Regions from separate parts of the Homo sapiens genome. Here region 2 is linked to region 1. The links are contacts of gene promoters, found by promoter capture Hi-C in blood cells and fetal thymus (Javierre and others, 2016). All regions are on one chromosome and are shown on one strand. Each heading gives the region's core, a stretch centred on a gene start or on the middle of the fragment in contact. The rest is flanking DNA. Distances are from core to core; before and after follow the strand shown. Region 1 holds the start of ENOX1 (ecto-NOX disulfide-thiol exchanger 1). Region 2 overlaps ENOX1 (ecto-NOX disulfide-thiol exchanger 1).

Region 1 (3,389 bases), core at 644-3,143:
AGTGTCCATGAACACTACTCTTTACAGGAGAAAAATGCGTACCTGATAAGCTATTAGAAATGTGTATTTCTGGCCTGGAGCGGTGGCTCATGCCTGTAATCCCAGCACTTTGGGAGGCCGAGGCAGGCGGATCACTTGAGGTCAGGAGTTGGAGACCAGTCTGGAAAACATGGTGAAACTGTGTCTCTACTAAAAACTAAAAACTAAAAAAAAAAAAAAAAAAAAAAAAAAAAAAAAATTAGCCGAGCGTGGTGGCCGGCGCCTGTAATCCTAGCTACTAGGAGGCTGAGGCAGGAGAATTCGCTTGAACCCGGGAGGCAGAGGTTGCAGTGAGCCGAGATCGCGCCACTGCACTCCAGCCTGGGTGACAGAGCGAGGTTCCGTCTCAAAAAACAAAAAACAAAAGTGTATTTCTCTTAAAACTGTTTTCCCCATCCTTCTGCTCTAGAAGGGACAGTATAAACTGCTGGTGAACACTGACTTTCACATTTTGAGAGGTTAGGTTCTGAGCTTTGGCCCCCTCACACCCAGGGCATCCCACTGGGGTCCCTGCAGAGTGCTTCTACATGCATCCTTTGTTAAGGGTGCACAATGGATAAGTATTATTTTCTTTCTTTGCATTGGGGTTCTGACCGCCAGGGGGAAAAATAGCCACACACAAGGAAATGGCATAAGTTAAAATCAGGCAAGCCTAGTGGGGTGGTAATGACTTTCCCAGCATCCAAGTCTTTGCCTTCAGGTTACGTGAAGCTAGAAAACAATGTCATTCATTCAACATTTACAGGGAACTCACAAAGTACAGAGTACTATGCTAAGCACTGGAAGGCATGCAAAAGTGTGCAAAACACAATCCCTGCATTGAGGATTCCTGCCAGAAAGGGTATTTCAAGTATTACCCAGACCTTACGACCCTTGAAGAAATGCTTGTGTGAATAAAATCCCACTCAGAATTTAAAATAAGCAAGGAAAAGTATACTACTAAGACAATATATCTGTTAAGAGGCAGAGAATGTAAATGTGCTTTAAACATTTATTTCTGAAGTATTACAATGTAGTTGGGATGGAGGATCGGGGGATGTGGGTGTGTGTGGGGAGGTGGTGGGAGCGGTTCTTGGACGAGCCTGACTCTAAGGAGGCACTGCTTAGATGCCTGCACAGCTAAGTTGAATCCTAACAAAGAGGAGGCCGGCATTCTTACCTGGGAAGTGGGTAACTTTGAGAAAAAGTAGCCTCCAAGGAGGAAAAAAAGGCAACATGTCACCTGGGGTTAGGATCCCCTCACCCTTACCAACCTGAATGCTGACCGCACCCCGGCCGAGCCACTCTGGGCCGCACACCCCGCATCATCTGCCCAGGCCACGCGGCCCAATTCCACCGTCTACCCCAAGCCCACAATCCTGTAACACGCCCGCTCCAGCCTGGAGTCGGCCACGTGCGCCCGGGTTCTTCTCTTGGCCCTTCAGCGGGCCCGGCCCCTCCAAGGTCGCCGTAGCAACCGTGCGGTCCCTCTCTCGGTTCCCCCGCTCCCAGTAGAGCAGTCCCGACCGCGGCGGCGGTGGCGGGAGCGAGCGGCCTCGGCCCCTCCCGAGAGGGGGCAGCGCGACCGTGGGCTGCGGGCGCCGCCTCTGCTGCATCGGTGGCTGCGCGCTCCGCTCGGCTCTGCCGGGCTGGGATCCGGAGCCCTAGCGCGCCTCGCTGACTTCCCCTCCTCCTCTGCTGCCGCCCCGTGGGCAGCTTCTCCAAGCGAGACACGCGTTCGATCCTCCTTCCCCGCGTTTACGGATTTCCGGGGTCGTAGAATTTTGCCTCGGTCCCTACGAGCATCTCTCGGCCTCTCTCCCCCTCCCCTCGCGACTCCCCCACCCCGTGGGCGCGCGCGCACCCATACACTCACACTCGCAGGCGCGCGTGCGCACGCCCGCGCGCCTCCAGCCGCGGAGTCTCCAGCGCCCCTCAGCAGATCCCCGCTCTCCCGGGCGCCGCTACTCACACAGGCTTCCAGCCGCCACGGGGCGTCCTCTGTCTGCTGCAGCGGCGGCGGCAGCAGAGGGAACGGCGACTGCAGCCCGGCCGCGTCTCCCAGCTCCGTGCCCGGGACAGAGTCCGGGAGAAGCAAAGGAGGAGGAGGACGCCGAGGCTAGGAGGAGCCGCGCCGCGCCCGGCGCCCCACTCCGCGCAGCGGGTTGCCTCCGCTCCCCATACGGCGGCCCCAGGTAAGCAGCTCCGGGGCCCGCAGCCTCCCTGGGGCGTCCGGGCTCCGAGCCGGGGTCCTCTGGTCTCACCCCCGCCACGGCACCTGGATCTAGACTGAGAGGGGAGTGGGCGAGGGGGGAGGGGAGTGGAGCTAGAGGTGAGGCTGGTGAGGAGGGGTGCGTGGACGCGTGGGGGCTTCGGTGCAGCCCCCACGCCCTTCCCCGCCGTGCCCCGTCTCAAGCTCCCTCACTTTTACGCGCCCGGGGGTGCCCAGCGCCCCAGACAGCTGTTCCCCGCTCTCCCCTCCGCCCGCCAGCCAGTGTCAGCTCCGGGCTCCGCGCCCGCCGCGCGCCAGTCACCTCCCCTGCACCTTGGACAGCGCACCCCGCACCCGTCTCCCCCTGCGGGCGTCGCCCCCGGGACCCGTTCCTGCCCACACAGTGTTCCCGCTGCCCTCTTCTTTCAGGTTTTCACCCTCCCGCTCTGCATCCCTTTTCCTCCAGCCTTGGCGGACTCCGCTCTGCTGCGGGCCGGAAACTTTCCTCCCCGCCTAGTCTGCGCTGGGTACTGTTGTTATTCGTGACTGTCCCCTCTCGCGGGGAGCTCGGACACCTTGGACAGGTCTTCGTCGGCGGGAGCGCGCCCTGCCTGGCCCAACGCGAGGTAAAGGAGGCACTGGGGCAGCCGGACTCGGCCGCTGCCAGGGTGCAGAGCCCGCGCCTCGGCCGCTGGACGCCGGCCGCCTCCCCGCCTCTCCGGACCCGACACGTGCGAGCCTCCCACGGACGCGGCCCCTCCCAGACCACCCCACGTCCTCCCCCTGCACGGCCACAGCCACCCCATAGGTTGGACACCCGGGGCTCGCGGGTCCTGATTGGCTGAAGGCGTAACCCCGCCCTCTTTCGGAAGGGGGGTGGTTCTGGAGTGTTGTGGTTGTCATCCCGCGGCGAGCACATGGGGAAAGTGGGGTCGACAGGTGGGCAAGCCCAGCTCTGTGGAATCTCTGCGTCTCACTGTATAGCCACTGAGCCACGCTTCTTCACCCAGATACACTCCTGCTTCTCTCCTTTTCTCTCCCTCAATCTTTCACTGCTGTAACATTACATGAAAAAAACTGGCTTTGTAATCCCAATTTTGTTAAGATTGCATTTGTTTGGTGGTAGCAATTTTTAAAAGCAGACCCAGGAGAATGCAGG
Region 2 (3,389 bases), core at 258-2,757, 490 kb after region 1:
TAGATTCAGCAGTGCCTTTAAAATCACCAACAAAATATTTAATCACATTCAGTCCGGTTGACATTTAAGGTGTCTAATTCTATTCTTTTTTTATTATCGGAAATTGGTAATCCACATGGGGTGTCTCTTACATATTCCATTTATTGGCACTCGGTGCACTCCTTAGGAATTCCTACCGAAAGATGCACACTGTACTTTTTTTTTTTTTAATCCTTATACTTATTTGGATAGTGGATTCATTGTGCAGTCTCATAAGGTAAATTTTATTATGGAAGCTTGATGACACATTTTTTCAAAACTCTTTAATTTAGTACAGTATTCCAGAAAGAAAGAAAGAGAAGAGAGAGAAATAAAAAGTTTCCCTTTCCAATTTCTGAATTTTTAATATACTGAGAAGTTATATTAAGTCAGAAATTATTAGGATTTTTTTTCTGTTAGCGCTCTGGCCCAAGAAACATAATATAGCCTCTTCCAGGCAGCCTTGTCTGAGGAATAGATTCAGGGCTGCAGTATGACACTGAGTGGTGTTTACAAACAGGTGGCCTGAAGCTAAGTGGAGTCAATATACAATTTCTCACCCTTTAGAAGATAACTACTTGCTGCCACATGAGTAACGAAAATTTTTTTGTAAAAACCAAGCTTGAAATCATTTAATCAGGAATGTAAATCAGTTATGTGCCCCAATTATAAAAATGTTGATGGAATTTGCTATGGTATTGATTTTTTTTTTTTTTTTGGTGGGGGAATTACAGCTGTTGTGGGTTTTTTTAATATGATGATATCACATTCCTATTCCGGGAATGCAAACAATATTATATACTGCTTGGCAGGCACTGTAGTCACTTGGCTTAGCCAAGAATAAGAACTCTCAGCAGTACCATTCCATAGGTTTGTAAGAGATCCCCTAAAATAATGGATGGTACACTTTCCTATATGTATTTATGTTCAGATAATTTATTTAAATAATGCTGTTGGCACATGCTTTATAGCTGCTTGCATTTTGCTATACAGATTTCAGCATATCTTGCAGACTATGCAATTCATTTGGAAAATGTAATTTCCATCCCTGCGTACTAATCGATTTCTTCACAAACACCTGCTATCAGTTATGATAATAAAAATGCCACTCTGAATTGAAAAAGGGCCAAATAGAGCTTCCTAAGGAAATGACTTAAGTGTCTTTGAATGCTACTAAATGTAGTAATGTGCCTATGCAGTGCCAACACTTTCTTCATCATTTGCATTTTCTGTGATTTTGCCCTATTACAACATCCCTCTCACAAATGAATCCTCATAACCATTTCCTTATGGCTTGGTAAACGGAGCTGTCAGGAGGTGGTATCTCAGGGTGTGGACAAGATCTGAAGCTGGGCTGCACAATGTTAAAAAGCACTGGCTCATGCTGCGGGTTATGTGCTGGATAATTTCTGATTTTATGAGTAGGTCTCTGAAAACTGTAAAAGTGGCTGCTCCTTGGTTTTGCACACACATACACCAAATGAAATCTCCTTTATTCATTCTCTTCAGCCTCCAGTTCATTCCATGCACCATTGCCAAACTAATGTTCCTAAATCCCAATTTCATCATGTCCTTCCACTACTCCAAGCGCTGTCAGTGGTTCTCAATTGGCCACTCCATTGAACCTAACCTTCCCCATCTTCTCCCATCACCTGACGTGGATTCCCTTTCTCTCACTGCTTCCAGGCAAACACTTGGCTTTTGGTCGAGTTTCTCTCCTTCTTGCCCCAAGTGTTCTACCTTTGATTTTCATATCTGGGCTTTTGCTTATGCTCTGGCTTCTGACTGAGAGACATCCTTTCCAAGTTCTTGGGGTTTTCATCTTCCAAAGCCCTCTTTTATTCCTTCAGTCTGAATTTTTATTTCTCTTCTCTGAACTCCTATAGGATGCATTTTTTTGTCATGCATCTCGACTCATTTATTTATTCATTTATTCATTCAACCAACATTTATTGAGTGTCTGCTGTATTCCAGACATCACACTATCCTTTCTTCCTTTGAAAGCAATAGTTTCTTTTTAAATGTGTCAGTTTCTACTAGATTAAGCTCTTTGAGAGAAGAGATGTATTCTGTCTCCTCTTTTTGTGGTCTGAGATGCCCTCACGGACCTGAGCACAGTAAATATGAAGTAAATGCGTGTTAAGTAATTGATCCCTACTGGCTTGAGGTAGGGAAATTTCTGGGTAATTGCATGTTCTGTCTGATTAGTAGTTCAGTGTGTACTACACAGAGATTATCATTTTGCAAGATGGAGTACTGTAAAACACTCAACTATAAAACTATTATTAACATAATTTGACATTTGATATTTGAGGAGAGAATTCACTGTGGTCTCAGAGAACCTCAGTAAAGCTTTATCACCATGGAACTGTAATGTGCAGGTAGAACACTCAGGAGGCGACCTTGATTTGGTCCTCTGACACGGGGAGCGGGGGCTGGAAACGCGCATGCACTGACGACCTGGTGTGCAGTGGGCTCCACACCGTGCCCTTATCTACTGGAAGTTACATGTTTGAAGTTTCTGGTAACAAGCGTTTCAAATTTTCTTTCACTTTTCTCTTGCTTACACAAGTGGGGAATGGCTTTTCTGTGAGGGGGAAGATTAAAGGGAGAGTGGTGGGAGAGTTGGTGGGGGAATGTGAGACTGGTTTTGAACAGCCTGGTAAGAACTAAACACATGGACCGATGGTAATCGAGAGCAGAGACTCTGGAGCCTGCAGCCTGGGTGTGAAGGCTTTCTGCTACTTACTTTGTGGGATTGGATGAGTTACATAACTTCTCTGTGCCACATTTTTCTCATCTGTAAAGATGAGCATAAGACCAGCACCGGCATCACAGGCTTGGTGGGGGTATGAAGTGAGTGAGTTCATACAAAGCTCTTGATCCAGTGCTTTATGAGTGCTCAGCAGGCTATGTTGATTTTCGGAGAGACCCCTAAGCAATAAGGTAGAAACTAGGGAAAGGGATTTCCCTACCCTCAATCTTTGTTTGGTACCATTTGTTTCTTTTTCAGTTTCGGCTATTTCTGAAGCCTTGAGATGTGTGAGACCCTGAGTTAACTGTCTTGGTTTCTTAATAAGATAGACATATGAATGAAGTCTGAATCTAAATGTGGAGAATTTGGGGTTTCAGGGAGAGGTATTAGAGTAACCACTCAGCCTTGTAGAGGAAAAGAGTTTTAATCTGTTGGTGAAACAGATGGAACTAGCTTCCCATTCTGATAGGAGTTGGAGGAAAACAATCTGTGCAATTTGTCCCAGCAGTAGAGCAGGAAGGAGTGGTGTGCATATAATTTCCTCTCTCCCCTGGGATGCTGCCGCATGTCTCAACCTGTGGAACTGCTGATTATTTGAAAGCAAGCAGCCCTCCAA

Evidence for each region. Contacts are between HindIII fragments. The CHiCAGO score rates a contact against its expected background, and 5 or more counts as called.
Region 2: a fragment that was not itself captured here is called in contact with the fragment with the promoter of ENOX1 in region 1 in 1 of 17 cell types (megakaryocytes); the score reaches 5.6 in megakaryocytes.

What each region holds. Positions count from the first base shown.
Region 1 is chr13:43,785,476-43,788,864 of GRCh38, reverse strand. It overlaps ENOX1 (ecto-NOX disulfide-thiol exchanger 1), which reads left to right and starts at 1,893. Exons shown (of 17, transcript NM_001347969.2): 1 at 1,893-2,213. The HindIII fragment of the contact is 7,995 bases long and covers 1-3,389 here.
Region 2 is chr13:43,298,930-43,302,318 of GRCh38, reverse strand. All of the region lies in intron 11 of ENOX1 (ecto-NOX disulfide-thiol exchanger 1), which reads left to right. Among named protein-coding and RNA genes, the nearest start is that of ENOX1-AS2, 150 kb to the left of the region's middle. The HindIII fragment of the contact is 1,731 bases long and covers 642-2,372 here.